4 separate regions of the Homo sapiens genome follow, and all the other regions are linked to region 3. The links are contacts of gene promoters, found by promoter capture Hi-C in blood cells and fetal thymus (Javierre and others, 2016). All regions are on one chromosome and are shown on one strand. Each heading gives the region's core, a stretch centred on a gene start or on the middle of the fragment in contact. The rest is flanking DNA. Distances are from core to core; before and after follow the strand shown.

The links. Contacts are between HindIII fragments. The CHiCAGO score rates a contact against its expected background, and 5 or more counts as called.
Region 1: the fragment with the promoter of PAK2 here is called in contact with the fragment with the promoter of TM4SF19 in region 3 in 7 of 17 cell types (naive CD8 T cells, monocytes, total B cells and 4 more); the score reaches 13.5 in naive CD8 T cells.
Region 2: a fragment that was not itself captured here is called in contact with the fragment with the promoter of TM4SF19 in region 3 in 2 of 17 cell types (M2 macrophages and M0 macrophages); the score reaches 7.1 in M2 macrophages.
Region 4: the fragment with the promoter of NRROS here is called in contact with the fragment with the promoter of TM4SF19 in region 3 in 6 of 17 cell types (M0 macrophages, M2 macrophages, naive CD8 T cells and 3 more); the score reaches 12.9 in M0 macrophages.

Annotation. Positions count from the first base shown.
Region 1 is chr3:196,736,115-196,741,185 of GRCh38, reverse strand. It overlaps PAK2 (p21 (RAC1) activated kinase 2), which reads right to left and starts at 1,329. Exons shown (of 15, transcript NM_002577.4): 1 at 1,029-1,329. RefSeq lists a silencer at 749-1,538. The HindIII fragment of the contact is 10,729 bases long and covers 1-4,057 here.
Region 2 is chr3:196,686,890-196,691,678 of GRCh38, reverse strand. No RefSeq gene overlaps it. Among named protein-coding and RNA genes, the nearest start is that of CEP19, 23 kb to the left of the region's middle. The HindIII fragment of the contact is 434 bases long and covers 2,811-3,244 here.
Region 3 is chr3:196,335,325-196,340,740 of GRCh38, reverse strand. TM4SF19 (transmembrane 4 L six family member 19) reads left to right here and starts at 2,353. Exons shown (of 5, transcript NM_138461.4): 1 at 2,353-2,477. It overlaps TM4SF19-DYNLT2B (TM4SF19-DYNLT2B readthrough (NMD candidate)), which reads left to right and starts at 2,321. Exons shown (of 6, transcript NR_037950.1): 1 at 2,321-2,477. RefSeq lists a silencer at 2,049-2,220 and enhancers at 1,969-2,263, 1,630-2,829. The HindIII fragment of the contact is 5,119 bases long and covers 1-2,724 here.
Region 4 is chr3:196,636,675-196,642,218 of GRCh38, reverse strand. It overlaps NRROS (negative regulator of reactive oxygen species), which reads right to left and starts at 2,525. Exons shown (of 3, transcript NM_198565.3): 1 at 2,344-2,525. RefSeq lists enhancers at 171-230, 251-600, 1,769-1,888 and silencers at 2,339-2,438, 2,459-2,888. The HindIII fragment of the contact is 14,541 bases long and covers 1-5,544 here.

The sequences.
Region 1 (5,071 bases), core at 80-2,579, 400 kb before region 3:
TGCACAACCTTGATCCAAAACACAGCTCTTCGTAGTTTAATTTTAGGCCTAACCATTTTGTCTTTTTATAAAGGTTAAAAAAGAAAACAAAGAAAGGACACATCGCCTGTAACGCAGAAGTGAGATAATGATATCAACCGGAGTTCGTTATTTATCAAGGGACAACAAATCACGCTCACACTGCCCAGGGAGAGTACTACTAAAATTAAGATACAAGGATGGGTACAACCTCACACCCACTGACGATGACACGCTTCTGTTCTTGGATGACTTATCTTTAAAGAATTAGTTAAAAGGTTGAGTGGCAACGTTTTGTGTTTGTGCGTGCGTGTGTTTCCAAGAGAGCCAAACATGGTGAAAAACCAATCTTAACTTCACCTAAGTTATCTAAAGAAGCAAATTTCACCCCTAGGCTGAAGCTCAAACAGGAGCGAGGAGAAGCTCCGAAAGATCAGTTCGTAAGCGGTGGCCCTCAAGCGCCCGGGACGCTCTACGTTTTTACCAATGTGGAATGTGGAAAAGAGGTTACAGGCTGGAGCTGAGAAAACAGTCAAGCTACTCGCGACAATATTCCTGAGCAGTGAAACGGGTGAACAGAGAGCGAGCAAGCAGGGGCTGAGAATCAGTGAGAGGAAAAATCAAGGAACAAAACCGGAGAGTCTGGTCCAGCATTAAGAAAACGGAGCAAAGGAAGAGGGTGAAACGCGAGGGGAGGGAAGACCGAGAGTCGGCAGAGACCGTGGTGCCGCGAGGTTCAGAGCAGGGCTGGGTCCAGGAAGAGTCAGACCTCCGCAGCCCAGCGAGCTTCCCATTTCTGGCTAAAGCCAGCGAAGAAAACGGCCCTGGGGAGCAGACAATGAGCCACCGCCCCAGGAGCTGCGGCTCCCAGCACGCAGGTGGCGGCTCCCCGGCCCCGCGCGGGGCAGGTCGGCCGTCCCGGGCCGCTCCCGCCCGCCAGGCCACGGAGAAGGAAGGAGGAGGAAGAGACCCGGCCTGCGTCCCGCGCCGGCCGGCCTGTGTGCACTTACCCCGGGCAAGGCAAGGTCCCCGCCCCAGCGAGGCGCCTCGGTCAGAGCTCCCGGCGGGCTGCGGAGCCGCCCCGGGCTAGCGCGCGGTGCGGGGAGGGGAGGGGAGGGAAGGGGAAGCGGGGCGGGAAGAGACGCCGCGCTGGAGCAGCCGCTGCTACCGCTAGGCCCAGCGGCGGCGGAGTCCTGCGCACGCCAGGGAGGGGAGGGGAGGGAGCCTTCGGCAATGGCGACGGCCCGGGCCGGAGGGGAAGCGGAACAACCGCCGCCGCTGCGCGTGGCCACAACCCTGGGGGAGGAAGACGGCGGGGAGCGGGGCGGGGCGGGGCCAGAACCCAGAACCCCTCCCGCCCCGAAGCCGGAGCTCCCCGGGGCGGAGACGAGCGCCACCTCCCATGGGCAGGCCCGCGCGGGGGCCGCTGGGAGTAGTAGTTCGGTGATAGACGTTGCTTTTATTCCTTGGGTAGTCTTTGTATTGAGAGGAGCAGCCAGTCCCTCATTTAATTCAGCATTGTCTCCAAGCAGGTCTCTGCCGACGGAAGACGCTGACAGACGATTGCTGTTATACACATCTGCTCCGCGACATTTGTTTCTGGGAATTCATCCGTTATCCATTTTGCTTTTTTGCTTACAAATTCTTAACTAAAATTTTGCTGCTAAATTAAGTATCACCTCCTTGCAAATTAAGACTTCCCTATTTTATCCACGGAGGAGTTCATCAATGTTTCACTTATTCTACAAATATTTGAGTGTCTGATATGGACTAGACACTGTTAAGCATCAGAAATACAAGGGTGGTTCAGGTGCGGTGGCTCACGCCTGTAATCCCAGCACTTTGGGAGGCTGAGGCAGGCGGATCACCTGAGGTCGGGAGTTCGAGACCAGCCTGGCCAACACGATGAAACCCCGTTTCTACTAAAAATACAAAAATTAGCTGGGCATGGTGGCACGCATCTGTAGTCCCAGCTACTCGGGAGACTAAGGCAGGAGAATCGCTTGAACCCAGGAGGAGGAGGCTGCAGTGAGCCAAGATCGGGCCACTGCACTTCAGCGTGACAGAGTCGTCATGCCTCAAAAACAAAACAAAAAACACAAAAGAAATGCAAGGGTGAACACGATTCACCAAGCCTTTGTGGAGCTTATATGAGGACGCAGTAATTAAAGTAGTCACACCTGGTATAAGAAAAAACTTGGCGAGGTTACTTTGGATAGGGTGGTCGGAGAAGGCCTCGTTAAGGAGGTGACACTTAAGGCAAGAACAGAAAGAGACAGCAATAAGAAGCACCCAGAGAAAAGCAATACAGGCAGGAGAAGAAAGAAAAGGGCTTGCTACGGTCAGTTAAGAAGGCCTGTGTAGCTGGGGCCTAGAACAAGAAGGCGGTACTATTAAGAAAACACTACAGCAGACAAGATTCAGGTCATGAAAGATCCTGAATGCCATGGTAAAAAGTCTATATTACAAAAAACCATTAAAAGGCTTTTTTAAGCAGGAAAGCGATGTTACCTGGCTTACACTTTAAGATCACTAGACTGCAATGTGGATAATGGAGTATAGAGATGCAAGAATAGAAGGGAAATAAAGTAGGAAGGCAGTGGAAAGAAAGAGGAATTGTGCTTCTCTATCAATGTAGAGCAAAAAACTCAATTGATGCAGTGGGTACAGGAGAGAAAGGAATCAAGGAGCAACATGGCACAGTAAGAGATAACCTGAAAAATGCTCTGATTATTAAACACACAGAAACACTGGATAAATAAGACATCCTTTCAAAGGCATAACTTGCAAGAATGAAAATAGAATGTTTCTGACAGTCTTCCAAATTTCACACTCAACCTGAAGAAGGGGCAGGACACCAGAGTGGTAAGCAGGGCAGTGAAGCCATGGTTGTGTTGAGGGCACCTACTTATCTCAGAAATCTCTAGAGTTTTAATAGGTGCACAGGAAACTAAAGACAAGGACTTGGGCCTATACAAGAAGTCAGGACTGTGATCCTGCATAGGACTGGAAATTCAAGGCGCTATACCCTCCAAGAACAGACTGGGGGGAAAAAAAACCCTATGCTAGCCCAGGGAGACACACAGGACATTTGTTTACTTTGGCCTGCAGTGGGCTTGCAGGGCAGAAGAAAATTTTCCCTTTAGAATTAATAACCCTTTAGAATTTTCCCTCACTAAGGTTTTAAAGTTCAAATTTGTCAAGAAAGTGGTCCCAGGCTGGAGTTCTGGGGGGCCTGGAAGAAACAAATACAAATCCTGACTGCACAGGTGTACCCTCAACCTCGGTCTCAAAGGATTTCACAGATAAACAGGATTTCCGAAGCCAAACATGAGCACCCGAAATACAATACACCTGAGGAAATAAGCAGCGATGAGTGAGTCAATAGAAACTACAAAGAACATAATGAAACCCACACAGACTTTAGCTGCTGGAATTGATGGCTACAGAATATACAGTACGCCTATTTAAATGATTAAAGAAAGTAAGACAGGAGCTAGAAAACACGAGCAAGAAACAAGATGCTTTTTTTTTTTAACGACCAAACAGCTTTGAAAATGAAATAAGTAGGCCAGGCGCGGTGGCTCACACCTGTAATCCCAGCAGTTTGGGAGGCCGAGGTGGGCAGATCACCCGAGGTCAGGAGTTCGAGACCAGCCTGGCCAACATGGTGAAACCCCAGTCTCTACTAAAAATGCAAAAATTAGCCAGGCGTGGTGGTGGGCACCTGTAGTCCCACCTACTCAGGAGGCTGAGGCAGGAGAATCACTTGAACCTGGGAGGTGGAGGTTGCAGTAAGCCAAGAACATGCCATTGCACTCCAGCCTGGGCAACAAGAGCAAAACTCCGTCTCAAAACAAAAACAACAACAACAAAAGAATTAAGTAGAATTTCTAGAAACAAAGAATAACTGAAACCAAAGCCAATGTTTGGTTAAATAGCAGATTACACACAATTGAAGAGAAAATTAGTAAACTGGAAGACAGACCAAAAGAAATTACTGAGAACAGCCTAGAGACAGGAAAAATGAAAGCAAGCTTAAGAGACATGGGGATAGATTGTTAAGGTCTCTACCATACTCCTAATGAGAATTCCAGGAGAGAAAAGAGAAAAACCAAGAGAGGCAGATAATGATGAGATAATGGCTGAAAAATTTCCAGAATTGATTAAAGACAGGAATCTTCAGATTCAGGAAGCAAACTGAATACCAAGCAGGATAAGTAAAGAAATTTCAAACACATGAAAATGAAACCGCAGAATACCAGAGATAAAGCAACCAGAGAGAAAAGACATTCTGTACAAACAACTATTACATTCATAGCAGATTTCACAACAGCAAAACGGGTGCCAGTCAATAATGGTATATTTTCAAAGTACCAAGAGAAAATAACCAAGCTTAGAAGTGTACAGCTACCGGCTGGGCACAGTGGCTCACACCTGTAATCCCAGCACTTTAGGAGGCTGAGGTGGGCAGATCACCTGAGATCAGGAGTTCAAGACCAGCCTGGCCAACAACGGCAAAACCCTGTCTCTGCTAAAAATATAAAAAATAGCAGGGTGTGGTGGTGTGCGCCTGTAGTCCCAGCTACTTGGTAGGCTGAGGCAGGAGAATCACTTGAACCCAGGAAGCAGAGGTTGCAGTGAGCAGGGATCACACCACTGCACTCCAGCCTGGACGACAGAGCAAGACTCTGTCTCAAAAAAAAAAAAAAAAAAAAAAGTGTACAACTACCTAAATTATCCATCAGATGAGTGAGGATGAAATAAATATATCATCAAACATAAACAAGCTACCAACAGAGACACACTAAAGGAACTCCTTAAAAGGTATATTTCTTTCTTTTTCTTTCCCTTTTTTTTTTTTTTTTGTGACGGAGTCTCACTCTGTCGCCCAGGCTGGGGTGCAGTGGTACGATCTCGGCTCACTGCAACCTCTGCCTCCCGGGTTCAAGTGATTCTCCTGCCTCGGCCTCCCGAGTAGCTGGGATTACAGCCGCATGCCACCACTCCCGGCTAATTTTTTGTATTTTTAGTAGAGATGGGGTTTCACCAT
Region 2 (4,789 bases), core at 1,778-4,277, 350 kb before region 3:
TCTAGCCTGGGGGAAAAGCATAAAACTCCGCCTCAGAAAAAAAAAAAAAAAGAAGAAGAAGAAAAAAGAAAAGACAGAACTCTCTGAAGATCAAAACCGCCAGCAACGGGAAGGGTGACTTTGTGAAGCAGTGACCCCGCTGTCCCTACAGCAGCCCAGCAAGGCACCAGAGAGGTTAACCATTGGCGTTTTTCAAGCTGCCTTCTGTGGAGCAGCATCCTGGGGAGCTAGGGTTGGGGTCGGGTGTAAAAGTGGTCATTGTTCTGAGTGATAAAAAGAATAAGGAGGTGGGAACTGGACTCCTAATTTATCCACAGCAGCTCAATTCTTACATGTTGAAGTTTTTCCCATTTCAGAGTTCTACTTGAGATCTTCATTAAGGGTTCTGCTATGAAAATCAAACCTGCAAACCACCAGAGATGATGGCTTTCTTCGCTATCTCTTTTCTTTTTTGAGATGGAGTCTCGCTCTGTCACCCAGGCTGGAGTGCAATGGCGTGATCTTGGCTTACTGCATCCTCTGCCTCCCGGGTTCAAGCGATTCTCCTGCCTCAGCCTCCCGAGTAGCTGGGATTACAGGTGTGCGCCACCAAGTCTGGCTAATTTTTGTATTTTTAGAAGAGACAGAGTCTCACCACCTTGGCCAGGCTGGTCTTGAACTCCTGACCTCAGGTGATCTGCCCACCTCGGCCTCCCGAAGTGCTGGGATTACAGGTGTGAGCCACCGTGCCCGGCCTCTCCACCGTCTCTGGTGGACACAACACCCCGTCTCTTAGGTGCCTGATTCTCAGACAGGACTCAGGAGCAGAGACCAGATAAATCTCAGATTTGTCTGAGCTTATTTACTTCTGGAGTTTTCTAAATAGCTCTCTCTCTTCCCTGGGGTGGGTTGCTTTTTTTTTTTTTAAGGCAGTTTTTTCAATCTTTTGGGTAGTAGCTCTTGAGTCTGTAAAGCCTGGTAATTTTCTAGAGGTAATTGGCATTAACCATCAAGACTCTCCTCACATGCTCCCTTCCCACTCTGGCACCCTCCTCCCACAGGCCTTCCTCCCGTCCTGCTGCCTCCATCAGTCTCTTCCTCTGGCAGCCAAGGGTTGCCTCTCCAAGTGGTCCCAGGAGAGAAATCCTAGGGCCACGTATCAGTCAGAACACTAGTCCTGGACACCTGTGTTTCTCCTGCCCGCAGGCAGACCCTTCGGGAGACACTTGACCAGCGCAGGCCCTTGGGGGGCAGCTCGCCAGGTAGGACCCCTCCCTGCCAGCTGGGGTTTCCCAGCTCCCCACGCTTGAGTTCTCCTACCTAGAATCTTCTTAGGACTACTTTTAACAGCTGCAGTCCTCTCTGCTTGCTTTACGCCTCCCGAGACTCGTTGTTGCAAAAGTCTTTCTGTGCTAGAGACCCAAACTTTGAATCTCTACTCAAGCTAGTGGTTCTTAGACTTCAGCATGCACCAGACTCATCTGTGGGACTCACGATAGCGCAGATTGCTGCGTTCCACCCCCAGAATTTCTGATTCAGTAAGTCTGGGGTGGAGCCTAAGAATTTGCATTTATTTTCCTTTTTCTTTTTTTAATTTGTTTGAGATAGAGTCTCGCTCTTGTCACCCAGCCTGGAGTGCAGTGGCGCAATCTCAGCTCACTGCAACTCCCACCTCCCAGGTTTAAGCAATTATCCTGTCTCAGCCTCCTGAGTAGCTGGGATTACAGACGTGTGCCACCACGCCTGGCTAATTTTTATATTTTTAGTAGGGACAGGGTTTTGCCGTGTTGGCCAGGCTGGTCTTGAACTCCTGACCTCAGGTGATCCGCCTGCCTTGGCCTCCCAAAGTGCTGGGATTACAGGTGTGAGCCACTGCGCCTGGCCAAGAAATTGCATTTCTAACAAGCCCCCAGACCACACTTTGAGAAGCGCTGTGCGAGGCTTTTGCTTTCCTTCACTGTTGCTGTGGGTATTGGTGTTCCAACCCACAATTCCCTTTTGCTCATACTAGCTTCAGTATATTCCAGTGTCTCTCTGCTTATAGGCTTTTTGTAATAATCTTATTTCTATGGAATTCTGATATACTATGGCCTTTTTTTTTTTTTTTTTGAGACGGAGTCTTGCTCTGTCGCCCAGGCTGGAGTGCAGTGGCACGATCTCTGCTCACTGCAAGCCCCGCCTCCCAGGTTCACGCCATTCTCCTGCCTCAGCCTCCCGAGTAGCTGGGACTACAGGCGCCCGCCACCACGCCCGGCTAATTTCTTGTATTTTTAGTAGAGACGGGGTTTCACCATGTTAGCCAGGATGGTCTCGATCTCCTGACCTCGTGATCCGCCCGCCTTGGCCTCCCAATATACTGTGGCCTTCTATTTTAACTATCCTACGACCACTGGCTCTGTGGGCCAGGGTTTCACCCTCACACAGGTGCTATGCACTTAGAAGGCATTCTTTTTTTTTTTTTTTTTTTTTTTTTCAGATGGAGTTTCGCTCTTGTTGCCCAGGCTGGAGTGCAGTGGCGCCATCTCAGCTCACCACAACCTCCGCCTCCGCCTCCCGGGTTCAAGTGATTCTCCTGCCTCAGCCTCCTGAGTAGCTAGGATTATAGGCACACACCACCACACCCAGCTAATTTTGTATTTTAGTAGAGACAGGGTTTCTCCATGTTGGTCAGGCTGGTCTCGAACTCCCGACCTCAGGTGATCTGCCCGCCTCGGCCTCCCAAAGTGCTGGGATTACAGGCATGAGCCACCGTGCCTGGCCTAGAAGGCATTCTTGCTGAAGAAATTCGGCGGAGGGAAGGATTCATGCAGGCTGGAGCAACAGGGAAAGCTTCACAAAAGGAGTTGGAGTTGAGTGTGTCCTCAAAGGGAGATTTGTCTGTGTAGAAGGGAGAGGAACGAGCATTCCTGACAATGGCTCCTGGACATAGGAGCATTTGTTGGGATGACACGGAGGAACAGACTCTCACTGGAACACACATCTCTTCAATGAGGTGGTGAAATACATCATGGGAAGGAGCCTGTCTGTACCAGAACTCTTACAACCTATTAAGTGCAATTAGCCTCGCTGTAGCCAAAGGGATGTTGATTTTGCTCAGCAGATTGTTATTCAGGATCCCCAGGGACAGTGGTGCTGTGTGGGCAAAGCAGCGTGGGCAGCAGCAGCGTGGGAATGGGTGTGTTCACTCCCGAAGCCCAGGACAGATAACTCCACTTCTTGTTTCTGTAGAAAGAAGTGTGGCAAGAGCTGACCCGAGGAAGAAGCTTTGCTCAATAGGAAATGAGCTATGATGATGAAATGAGGAAGCCCTGCTGGGCTTCAGCTTGATGGTTCTGAATTATAAAGAGAAAAGAATGTGCAAAAAGCGAATATGATCGTGGAAAACTGGAAACACTCCAAATATCGAAAACTGGAAACACTCCAAATATCCATCAATAAGACATTGGTTAAGTGAATTGCGCAGTGTCCATGCTGCGGCATACTATGAAACCCTTAGGCAGAAGAAGGTAGCACTGGGCATAGTGACCTGGAAATAACTCCTAGCTACATGGTTAAGTGAGGAAAACAAGTTGCCAAATAGTATATTATAATTCTTTGATTTAAAAAATATATCAGTAAAAACTCTTGAATGAGGCCAGGTGCAGTGGCTCACACCTGTGATCCCAGGACTTTGGGAGGCCGAGGCGGGCGGATCACCTGAGGGCAGGAGTTTGAGACCAGCCTAACCAACATGTAGAAACCCCATCTCTACTAAAAATACAAAATTTAGCCGGGCGTGGTGGCGCATGCCTTTAATCCCAGCTACTCGGGAGGCTGAGGCAGGAGAATCGCTTGAGCCTGGGAGGCAGAGGTTGCAGTGAGCCGAGATCACACCATTGCACTCCAGCCTGGGCAACAAGAGCAAAACTCAGTCTCAAAACAAAAACAAAAACAAAACAAAACTCTTGAATGATGTGTGCAAAGTGACTGTTAACAGTTTGCCTGTGGAAAGAGGAGTGGGGTTAAAGTGGGAGATAGAGAGCTTAAGTGACTTTTCATTTTTTATTTTTAAAATTAAATTTCTGAATGGTTTAAATTTTTTCAAACATGCAATTGAAATAAATTCCAGCTAATGTGTACTCAGTGCCAGACACTGCTCTAGGTGTTTTAGGCCTATTATTTAATCCTCCCAACAAACCTCTGGAGATAGGTATTATTAATCTCCCCCATTTTGCAAATTAGAAAACTGAGGGCCGGAGCAGTGAAGCAGCCTGTCCAAGGTCACACACTAATAAGTGGGAGAGTTGAAATTTGAACCCACGTCATGTGGCTCCAGCATCTATGGACTGACCCTCTCACTGCAAGGCCCTCGATGGACCATGTTGGTCCATGGGATGGTAACTGTAACTGTAATAAGATTCCAGTAAAAACCGCACAAAAACTATGTGCATAGAAAAAGCAATGGGAGTCTCTATAGTTGTCCCTTTAAAACATGGATCCAAAGATTCACTCTGAATTCCAGCTCAGACAGGCTAATTCAGGCATGAAATATAGTGATTTCAGAACACAAGGAAAGCCTCACTTCTCCCTCCTACCCCAAACTGTTGGTTAACATTTCTTGAACAAGGACTAACTTTTTACCACCCAAATAGCGATCAAGCTTAATATGTGAATATTTCTGGACAAGGCGTAACTATCTCAAATTTAATTGTGTATATCTCTGATTTAATATTATCAAGGTGTAAATAGCAATCACATACAAAAAGCAGGTTGTGATAAGAGATGGGGAAAAGGCAGGAAGGAGGGACTCAGAGCATGATAGGGTACATAT
Region 3 (5,416 bases), core at 1,104-3,603:
AAGATAACCCATAACAAATGGGCAAAAACCATGGACGGGAACTTCTCAAAGAGGATCTTCAAATGGCTAATACGTATATGAAAAGGTGCTTACTCATCAAGGAGATGCAAATTCAAACACAAGGAGATTACACTAAACACCCACCACAATGCCTAAAATTAAAAATGTTTGTGAGAATGTGTAGAAACTGGAACTGTCACACACTGCTGGTGGGTGTGTAAATTAGGACTACTTTGGGAATCTGTTTGGCAATATCTGCCAAAATTAAATATTCACCTGCCCTATGATAGCAATCCTACTCCTAAGAATATTCCCTGGAAAAATTAGTGCATAGTTCCTTCAAAAGACATGCAGAAGAATATTCATAGCAGCATTATTTATAACAGGCAAAAGTTGAAAATATAAATGTCCATTAAGAGTAGAAAAAGTTGTAATATCCAATGTAATAATACTCAGCAATAAAAGAAAAATAAATTACATGATGGATGAATCTTACATATAGAATATTGAGTGAAGAAAGCCACACACAAAAGCCATACTGGGCTGGGCGCGGTGGCGCACGCTTGTAATCCAGCACTTTGGGAGGCCGAGGCAGGAGGATCACTTGAGCCTAGGAGTTCGAGACCAGACTGGGCTACATGGTGAGACCCCATCTGTACACGAAATTAAAAAATCAGCTGGCGTGGTGGCGCTTGCCTGTGGTCCCAGCTACTCAGGAGGCTGAAGTGTGAGGATCACTTGAGCCTATGAAGGCAAAAGGCTGCAGTGAGTCATGATTGTGCCACTGCACTCCCGCCTGGATGACACAGCAAAACCGCCTTTTTTTTTTTTTTTTTTAAAGAAAACTGTTTGATTCCATTTATGTGAAATTCAAGAACAACTAAAACCTAATCAATTATTATAAGAGCCAAAATGAAAGTTAACACTGGGGACAAGGGATACGAATGACAGGCGACACAATGAAACCTCTGGGGATTTGGAATGTCCTGTATCTTGATTTCTGTGCTGGTTCACCAGGGTATACATGTAAAAATTCATCAGACTTTAACATTAAGATTTGTGCACTTTAGGCTGGGCGTGCTGGCTCACACCTGTAATCCCAGCACTTTGGGAGGCGGAGGCGGGTGGATCGCCTGAGGTCGGGAGTTTGAGACCAGCCTGACCAACATGGAGAAACCGTGTTTCTACTAAAAATACAAAATTAGCCAGGCGTGGTGGCACGTGCCTGTAATCCCAGCTACTTGGGAGGCTGAGGCAGGAGAATTGCTTGAAGCCAGGAGGCAGAGGTTGCAGTGAGCTGAGATTGTGCCACTGCACTCCAGCCTGGGAACAAGAGTGAAACTCCGTCTCAAAAAAAAAAAAAAGAAAAGAAAAGATTTGTGCACTTTACTGTATATAATATCTAGATGTTTAAAATGCAATGGGAGCATAGAGAAAGAAGTACCTAACTCGGAGTAAAGAAATCCTGGCAGACTTCACTGGGAATGTTTGAACTGAATCTTGAATAGGAGCTTGTCCATAGAGGGTCACGGATCTCCCACACAGAGAGCACCACAAAATCCTCAGCAATTTGGTGAGAGTATGGTACAAGATGATAGTGGCCTGGGGCTTGAACAAGAGGCTGAGTGCGGTGGCTCACACCTGTAATCTCAGCACTTTGGGAGGCTGAGGCGAACACCTGAGGTCAGCAGTTCGAGACCAGCCTGGCCAAAATGGCAAAACCCCGTCTCTATTAAAAATACAAACATTAGCCGGGCATGGTGGCAGGTGCCTGTAATCCCAGCTACTCAGGAGGCTGAGGTGGGAGGATTGCTTGAGTGTGGGAGGCGGAGGTTGCAGTGAGCCGAGATCATGCCACTGCACTCCAGCCTGGGTGACAGAGTGAGACCCTGTCTCAAAAAAAAAAAAAAAAAAAAGTTAGACGTCTAGTACAGGAACCATGCAACACATCGAGTCAGCCAAGGGCAAGGTAAGGAGAGTGATGAGGAAAAAGGGGTGGCTGCCCTGCTCGGTGCTGTTCTGTCAAAGAGCCGAAATTCTTCGCGGGGTGGCAGATGAGGACAGGAACAGCTGGGGTGTGGCAAGTGTTGCTGCCTGGGGAGAGCGGAGGGTGAGGTGTTTCTCACGGGTGCATCCAGTGACTCATCAGGACAGCGGAGCTCATGAGGCCATGTCTCCCGTTTCCTGCCTTAGAATCACATGAAAATGAGCAGAGGGTGGGTCATCAGGACAGGGCTCTCCGGGGAGCGGAAGCGCCTTCAATGCAGGCCTGTGGGCAGGGGCGTGGGGGCGCGCACACACACACGCCTGGGTGACCTCTACGTATATACAGAGCCTCCCTGGCCCTCCTGGAAAGAGTCCTGGAAAGACAACCTTCAGGTCCAGCCCTGGAGCTGGAGGAGTGGAGCCCCACTCTGAAGACGCAGCCTTTCTCCAGGTTCTGTCTCTCCCATTCTGATTCTTGACACCAGATGCAGGTAAGCAGAGATGAAAGGGTGAGGTGACGGCCAGGGAACAGCCTAGCCTCACAGATGAGAGTGCACGCTTCCACTCCAGTGAGCCTGGCTCTGCAGCTTGGCGTCTGTGTGACTTTGCGCCATTCACTTACCTTCTCCTGTTGCCTCAGTCTGTCAACTTCTGGCCTTTGCACCTAGAATACTCTTCCTGCCTAGTATCTCATCGTCCATCAAGTTTGGGCATGGGCAGCCCTTCCTCCGGGAAGCTTCGTTTTGCTTCTGCCAGATAGGATTAGGTTCCTCCATGTGCTTCCATGACACCTTAAGTTGGATGCCCCTGCCTGGTACTTACTGTTACCAGCTGTGAATCCAGCGAGTCTGCAGCAAACTCAATCCTTGCCTTCTCGGGGGAGAGATTCGGCTGAGGGGCAGAAGTGGGTTTAAGGCAGAGGGAGAGGCTGAAGCAAGTTTGAGAGCAGGAGTGAAGGTTTATTAAAAAGTTTTTGAGCAGCAATGAAAGGAAGTAAAGTACACTTGGAAAAGGGCCAAGTGCGTGACTTGAGACACCCAAATGTGCTGTTAGACCCTTGACTTGGCGCCTGCCTGCCGCACAGGCACTTGGGAGGGGCCGCATGCGCAGTGTGTTTACTGAAGTCGTGCGCATGCTCACTTGAGGCGTTTTTCCCTTACCCGCGGAGCAGCACTAGAGGAAGGTCACACACACCAGCTAAACTCCACCATTTTGCTTCTTAGTGTAGATGCTTGAGCCCACTCGCCCAATTCCTGAGCTCTTACCAGGAAGCTGCTGATCACCAAGTTCAGGTATTTTCTATCTATTGGGAGACTGTCTTTCCCAACGCTGGCTGTGACCAATATTATTTTAGAAAGACAGTGTAACAACCGCCTGGCCATCACCTGATAGTCACCTGACATTACTGGGGTAGAGGCCCTCTCCCGCCCTGCTCATGTCTGCTCTATTTCTTACCACACTTGATTAGAATTACTTTTTGGCCAGCCTGACCCACATGGCGAAAACCCATCACTACTAAAAATACAAAATTAGCCGGGCGTGGTGCATGCCTGTAATTCCAGCTACTTGGGAGGCTGAGGCAGGAGAATAACTTGAACCCGAGAGGCGGAGGTTGCAGTGAGCCAAGAGCATGCCGCTGCACTCCAGCCTGGGCAACAAGAGCGAGACTGTGTCTCAAAAAAAAAAAAAAAAAAAAAAAAAAAGAATTGCTTTTTGCGTCAGCAGTGTCCCCACTAGACTTTAAGCTCCTCAAGGAAAGGGATTACATCTTTTTCATCGTTATATCCCTAGCCCCCCAAGTGTCTGTCAGGTAGTGATCACTTAATAAATATCCGACTGAAGGAAGAATGAAAGAAAAGCCTTGCTGGGTGGCGAGGGAGAGACACAGATGTAGAGAATGTGCGGTCTCTTCCTCCATGGAATTGAGCCGATCACTTCTGTTGTTGCCTGGACATCTAGCCGATGACGTGCTCACCTAGCTAGGACCTCAGGACAGAACAAGGAACTCCCCAGCAGCCTGGTTTTAAGGTTTTACCTTCTGATCTTGCTTGTCTCTTCAGATATCAAATTAGGCCACCTCTTTGCTAACCTCCTGGTTCACATTTTTGGAAGGGTTTCTCCAAATGTTATAATTTCTAGGGGAATAAAGTCAGGAGGAGGGGTGAAATTCACACGAAGCCGCAGTGCGGCAAGTGCTTTTAGTGTTTGATTGGCGGACAGCCAGGGCTCTGAATTCCACTCATCCAAAAGCCATGCTCCAGCTGGTAGTTTTCCCTCGCTGTCCATCATTTTTAGTTTCCCCTTTAAGAGTTTTCTGGGCTGGGCGCTGTGGCTCACACCTGTAATCCCAGCACTTTAGGAGGCCAAGGTAGGTGAATCACCTGAGGTCAGGAGTTCAAGACCAGCGTGGCTAACCTGGAGAAACCCCATCTCTACTAAAAATACAAAATTAGCCGGGCGTAGTGGTGTGCACCTGTAATCCCAGCTACTCAGGAGTCTGAGGCAGGAGAATCACTTGAACCCAGGAGGCGGAGGTAGCAGTGAGCTGAGGCCGCGCCATTGCACTCCAGCCTGGGCAACAAGAGTGAAACTCTGTCTCAAAAAAAAAACAAAAAACAAAACAAAAACAAAAACAAAAAAAACAGACTTTTCTGATGGGAACGTTTTCTGTAGAAGAGATCGTCAGGGGGGTTGATGTTGCTGAAGTGTGTAGACGGTGCTTTCTCAGAGGTGCCGTGATTTGAAGGCACTAAATGCATTCCTGCACAACGGCGTCTCCTGGCCCCATGATCTAGAGCACCCGCTTGAAAGGCCAACCACACACCCATCTTTCCTTGGGCCCCGGTCAGACATCTGGGTGGGCAGTGGATTAAAGTTGTGAGTTGTTAACACCCTGGGTGGTTAATTTGCCTCAACACAGAATTACACACTGCAAGCCCCGCACTGCACGATGGGACCGTCTCGGAGGGAGGATGTGCAGACATGCGGGGACATCGCAGCAGTGTGGGCAGGCTGTGAGGGGGCCGTTCTCCACAGGCGCCCTGCTCCCAGGAGCAGGACAGGTTCCTTGCTGTGACTGAGGAGTCCGGTGGCCTGTCAGCCAGAGGGTTGATGGGGGAAGAGACACCCCATCCCTCCCGATTCCTGACCCCACCCTGCCCCAGGACCCTTGGGCCCCTGGGGTAGGAGTCACTGTTGCTTCATATCCTACGCCCACCCTCTCAGGGCACCCCACCTCTCTCCTACCCCCACCCTCCCAGGGCACCCCTCCCCTCTCCTACCCCCACCCTCCCAGGGCACCCCTCCCCTCTCCTACCCACACCCTCCCAGGGCACCCCTCCCCTCTCCTACCCACACCCTCCCAGTGCACCCCTCCCCTCTCCTACCCCCACCCTCCCAGTGCACCCCTCCTCTTTCCTACAACCCCTCC
Region 4 (5,544 bases), core at 1,276-3,775, 300 kb before region 3:
TTGAACTCGGGTTTATTGTTGCACGTGAGGCTTATAAGAGCTAAGATCCAAGCACTGATGTCCTTTTTCCTTCACGTCTCTGAGCTTTCAGAAATCATCACCTAACCTAGCCCTGAGCCCCATCACAGAATGACCACATGACATTTGCTTCATGATGAAGTTGAGAAAAATGGTTTGGGAGGAAAGTGAGTATAATAAAGAAGTTCCACCAAAGGCAAAAACATGACAAATGTTTGTCACTGATGTGCGATGACACATCAACAAGCATCAGTGAGCACAGACATCTGTAAGTGTGTCATACACACAGCATGTCCTAAGAAAGACAGTGTTTTCAGTCGTGGTTGAAAGTCCACCCTCTCCTGACTTCTGAGGCTCTAAAATGGATCTGCGCCTGATGTGAGGGACAGTCATTGTCCATACGAGAGTCTGGTGCACACTGTGCAGTGTGGACGCACACCGCAGCCAGAATGCAGGTTGTCATCAGTACTAGCATCTCTCTTCCAAAAGAGTCAAGACTGGAGACAGACAGGTCAATGTACTCTTAATGCACACCCCAGAACAAAGATACTAGGCGTCTGCTCTCTGTTTTGGAGTCTACCAGGTATGTCTCATCATCAAAGAGCAGGAACTCTTGGATGATGAATTTAAAAACTATAAGAGAATGTGTTTTCATGAAGTTCCCATGAGGGCACTCATTACATGAAAGCTGGGGGCGGTGACTCACGCCCACACTCCCAGCACTTTGGGAGGCCAAGGCAGGAGGATTGCTTGAGCCCAGGAGTTTGAGACCAGCCTGGGCAACACAGCAAGATCCTGTGTCTACAAAAAAATTTTAAAAATTAGCTGGCATGGTGGTGTGCACCTGTTGTCCTAGCTCCTCAGGTGACTGAAGCAGGAGCATTATTTGAGCCCAAGAGTTTGAGGCTGCAGTGATCTGTGATCGTGCCACAGAACTCCAGTCTGGGCAACAGAGCAAGAGCCTGTCTCTAAAAATAAATAAATAAATATATATATTTTTAAAAAGTGCCTTCTTTGTGAAGCTGAGTTTGTTTTGTTTTGTTTTGTTTTGTTTTGTTTTTTTAACCTAAAGGCAGGAGTTAAGGTTTTTTCCTGGGCCCATGATTCTATAATCTCCTTTAGGGACTCTCGGGCACACACACACAAACCTAAGAGGTGTGTGAGGAGAATAAATACGTATTGTAAATGTAAAGCCCAGCAAACCCTCAGCATCCACAGAACAGTCTGTGTGTCACAGCCGGCAGGTGAGGAGCACACAGGAAAGCATGGAGGGCCACAGACGCTGAATGTTTCTAGCACCCAGACTCCTAACGGGCTGTGCCCATCATGAAGAAGCCTCCGGTGGGGTCCCCTCAGCCCCTAGGGAAGCACAGCAGCCCCGACCAGCCCTGTCCGGAGAGGCTCCATTCCTAGGACCCCCGATCCGGCCTCCTCCAGTCGCAGCCACCAACTGGCACGTGTCCACCTTCTCTCAGAGGCAGCACAAAGCCACACCAGTGGCTCCTTACTTCTTTCCGTCTAGCTCCTGGGTACGTGGGGAAGTACGCTGACCCCTTCAGAAGCCGGCCCACATGCAGGGGCCACGAGGGCTACGGAAGAGCGTCCGAGTCTTCGTCGCCCTCCTGTTAGTCTCCCTCTGATAAGCCATGGATCTAAGTCTAGGCTAAGATCCAAGTCACAGAGCCCCAGTGAATCTCCCAAGGACAAACGTTCTGTGGGAGAAGGGGCTTTGCACATTTTCACAGCTGTATCCCCAGGGCCTTGGACAGGCCTGGCACGTGGACGGCATCTGTGATAGGTGTTGCTGTTAACCAGTCTTAGTGTCTTCATCTATGAGATAGTGGTTCTCAATCCACGTTGTGGGACAGGAAAGGAGAGCCCAGTGCTCAGCATGCTGAGTGTGCACAGAGCGGTCTCATCATATCCAGTCGCCCAGCCCAGGGAGGGAGCATCTCTGTTCCCATTTTGCAGATGAGAAAACTGAGGCTCAGAAACCTTAACTGTCTGCTCACATGCTCCCTGCAGAGCCAGGACTCAAACCCACGTCTGAATCTGAAGCCCTCGTGGTTTCCACTACGTCGCACCACCTTTCTCAGCTCTAAGTGCTCCTGGAGGGAGGTATTTCCACCTCCACCCAGAGCTGCAGCCCCCACGCCCAGCACAAAAGCGGCGGCGCTTGGACGCAGCAAGCCACAGCTTCCTCGTGAGCCCTGAGCTGCGGGCCGCGGACGCTGACCTCCTACCACCCAACCTCGCTCGAGCTCGCCCACCTGGAGAAGGGCCCCGGCTGTGCCCCGGGGACGCCCCCACGCGGGAAATACTCACGGCTCCCGCAGGCGCAGGCGGCTGCGCGGGGCGCATCGTCTCCGGGGGCTCCGGCCTCCTCGAGAGCAGCCGAACGCGGGGCTGGGCTACCTCCTTGCTGTGGGGCATCAGATTATTTTAGCACCAGCGGAAGGAACGGACGGAAACTGAAGTCACATGGAGAGCGGGCTGCTCGGCGACTCAGCACAGGCTCACTCAGACCCGGCCTCTTAGAGGGAAGCGCGGCGCGGGCGCGGGGGTGGGGCGGGCCGGGGGAGCGGGGCCCGAACACCTGCCGGCCTAGCGGCCGAGCAGCGGGGATGTTTAGACGATCTTCCAGCAATGCGACCGAGGCTCCCCCGGCTTTCTTGCGTTGGTGCCTTGGCAGGGCTGGGGGCGGCCAGCTAGGGGCCCCTTGCCTATGAGGTCTGCTGACCCAGAAACTTTGCTACGAGCTTCCAGCCAAGGACCAAGCTGAGGCCGACTTTGGGAACGGCAGCACCGTGGTAAAGAGGCACAGCCTGTCGTCTGGCAGGGTCAGCCGCTCAGCCAGTCTGTCTTCTTATCCACTCAGCCGGTCCTTGTGGATCATCTCCTTTACGGACCCTGTGTTAGAAAGAAGGGGAATTGCTTTGTCGAGGACTGTCAGAGAGTGCCAAGAGCTTCTTGATCTTAGACTGCGCGGATGGGTTTTTTTGTACCTGATGTGTACAAAGTTCCCTGCCAGCTCTTGCCAAGAATTCAAAGGAGTAAGAATAATTGATCATATAGCCATCATTGAAGCAGCGCCAGACACTGTGCTAAGAGCTTCATATGCATTACCCCAGCGCTCCTGTTCTCGAGGAACTACTGTCGTCTAGAGAAGGTGAAATATTTACAGTGCCTGCTGCGTGTGGAGTGACGTGGACCACCATAGTCGGGGGCTCAGACAAGGGGCCTCCAGTTCTGATCTCTCTCACTCCCCTTCAAATCTGAAACGTTGAACTGTCCTGCAGGATTGGGTCACCTCTCTTATAGCCTGTGATTTGGGATTGTGTGTAGCATTGTCCATCCTAAGAGAACAGGAGCCAAGTCCTTTTCACTCCAAACATCTGGCACATTGTCTCTGCTTTCTACAATATTCACTCATGGCCGGGCACAGAGGCTCAGGCTTGTAATCCTAGCATTTTGGCAGACCAAGGCAGGTGGACCGCCTGAGTGCAAGACCAGCCTGGGCAACATACTGAGACTCCATATGTACAAAAAATTTAAAACTTAGCCAGACCTGGTGGCACGCACCTGTAGTCCCAGCTATTTGGGAGGCTGAGGTGGGAGGATCACCTGAGCACAGGGAGGTTGAGGCTGCAGTGAGCCAAGATCACGCCATTGCACTTCAGCCTGTGTGATAGAGTGTGACTCCGTCTTTAAAAAAATAAAAATAATTTTAAAAATAAAATATTATCTCATAATGGTAATAACAATCACACCAATGAAAAAGCTAAATAAAGATCAAATTGTTGCAAACCCAGGTGCTTGATTCAGGCCTCTTTCTCTCTTGTATGCACATTCTCTACTTCATGTCTTTTGTGTCTACCAATCAGTTGGTAACTCCCCAATTTTAATTTCTAGCTCCAACATTCTCTTCCACGAGAGAAGATCCAGACTTGCATTTTTAACTGTCTACTGGTCAATCAACTGCTACATGTCCCAGAGTCACCATAACATGATGTATCCCAAACTCAACTCTCTCTCTTTTTTTTTGAGACAGTCTTGCTCTGTCACCCAGGCTGGAGCAGTGGCGCAATCTCAGCTCACTGCAACCTCTGCCTCCCAGGTTCAAGTGATTCTCCTGCCTCAACCTCCCAAGTAGCTGGAATTACAGGCGCCCACCACCACGCCCAGCTAATTTTTGTGTTTTTAGTAGAGATGGGATTTCACCATGTTGGCCAGGGTGGTCTCAAACTCCTGACCTCAGGTGATCCGCCCACCTCAGTCTCAGAGTCCTGGGATTACAGGCATGAGCCACTGTGCCTGGCCCCAAACTCAACTCTTATCCTTTGTCCCAGCAGTTTCTCTCCTGTATGGCTGTCACACTTTACGGTATGTTTCAGCCCAGGCAGTCCAGCCCTCACAGACTTCATCCTTCATATCTAATTGACCCCCAATTCCTGCTGATTCTAACTCAGAAATGTTTCTGGAATCCAACCTGCTTTTCATCCTTAGGCTGTTGCCCTGGGTCTAGACCTCATCAGCTCATGTCTGGACCACTTTCATAGCCTCCTGAAACTCGCTCCCTGCCCCTAATCTCATCCCTGTCCAATGTCAACTCCACCTAGCTGCCACGGGCATCTTTCTAAAATGTGTATTGGGTCATCTCACTCTCTGCTTAAAGCCCTTTTACAGGGTTCAGCAGGTTCAAGGGTTCCTCATGAATGCCTAAAGACTGGCAGGTGGGATCCAGGTACCCCATTCCCTCCACATCCCAAGAATTCTACTTTGATATGTTTTATACATTGGGAGATTCTCTATAGAATTTCTTTTGAGAAAGGCAGCTGCTACCCCTAAAAAAAAAATCTAGTAAACCAATGGTCTTTTTTTTTTCTTTTTAATTCTTTTTCTTTCTTTTTTTTTTTTTTTTTTTTTTTTTTTGAGACAGGGTCTCACTCTGTTGCCCAGGCTGGAGTTCAGTGACGCAATCAAGGCTCACTGCAGCCTCGACCTTTGGGATCAGGTGATCCTCCTACCTCAGCCTCCTCAGTAGCTGGGACCACAGGCACACACCACCATGTCTTTTGTATTTTTGGTAGAGACAGGGGTCTCACCATGTTGTCCAGGCTGATCTCAAACTCCTGGGCTCAAGCAATCTGCCTACCTTGGCCTCCCAAAGTGCTGGAATTACAGGTGTGAGCCACTGCACCCGGCCCCAGTGCTCTTGATGGATGTGTAGAGACAAGCCAGTTGGTTGGCAACACCAGCAGCCCTCCCCTAGGCTAGCAGCACGCTGCCTCAGTGGGTGGAAGCCTGGACGTCCAGCTGAAACCAATGCAGATTTCAGCTGAAAGGAGAACGTGCCAGCACGGCTGGAAGCCCGACTGCACAGCTCAGCATCCTCCAACTTGGTTGGGCTCCCCCCTCACTATGCTTTTCGAGGCAGAGGAGACCAGGGTGCTTCCTCTCAGATGCAACCCTGGTGCATCCAGGCCTGGTTGCCCTGACCAAGCTCACCCCTCCACAGGATCATGA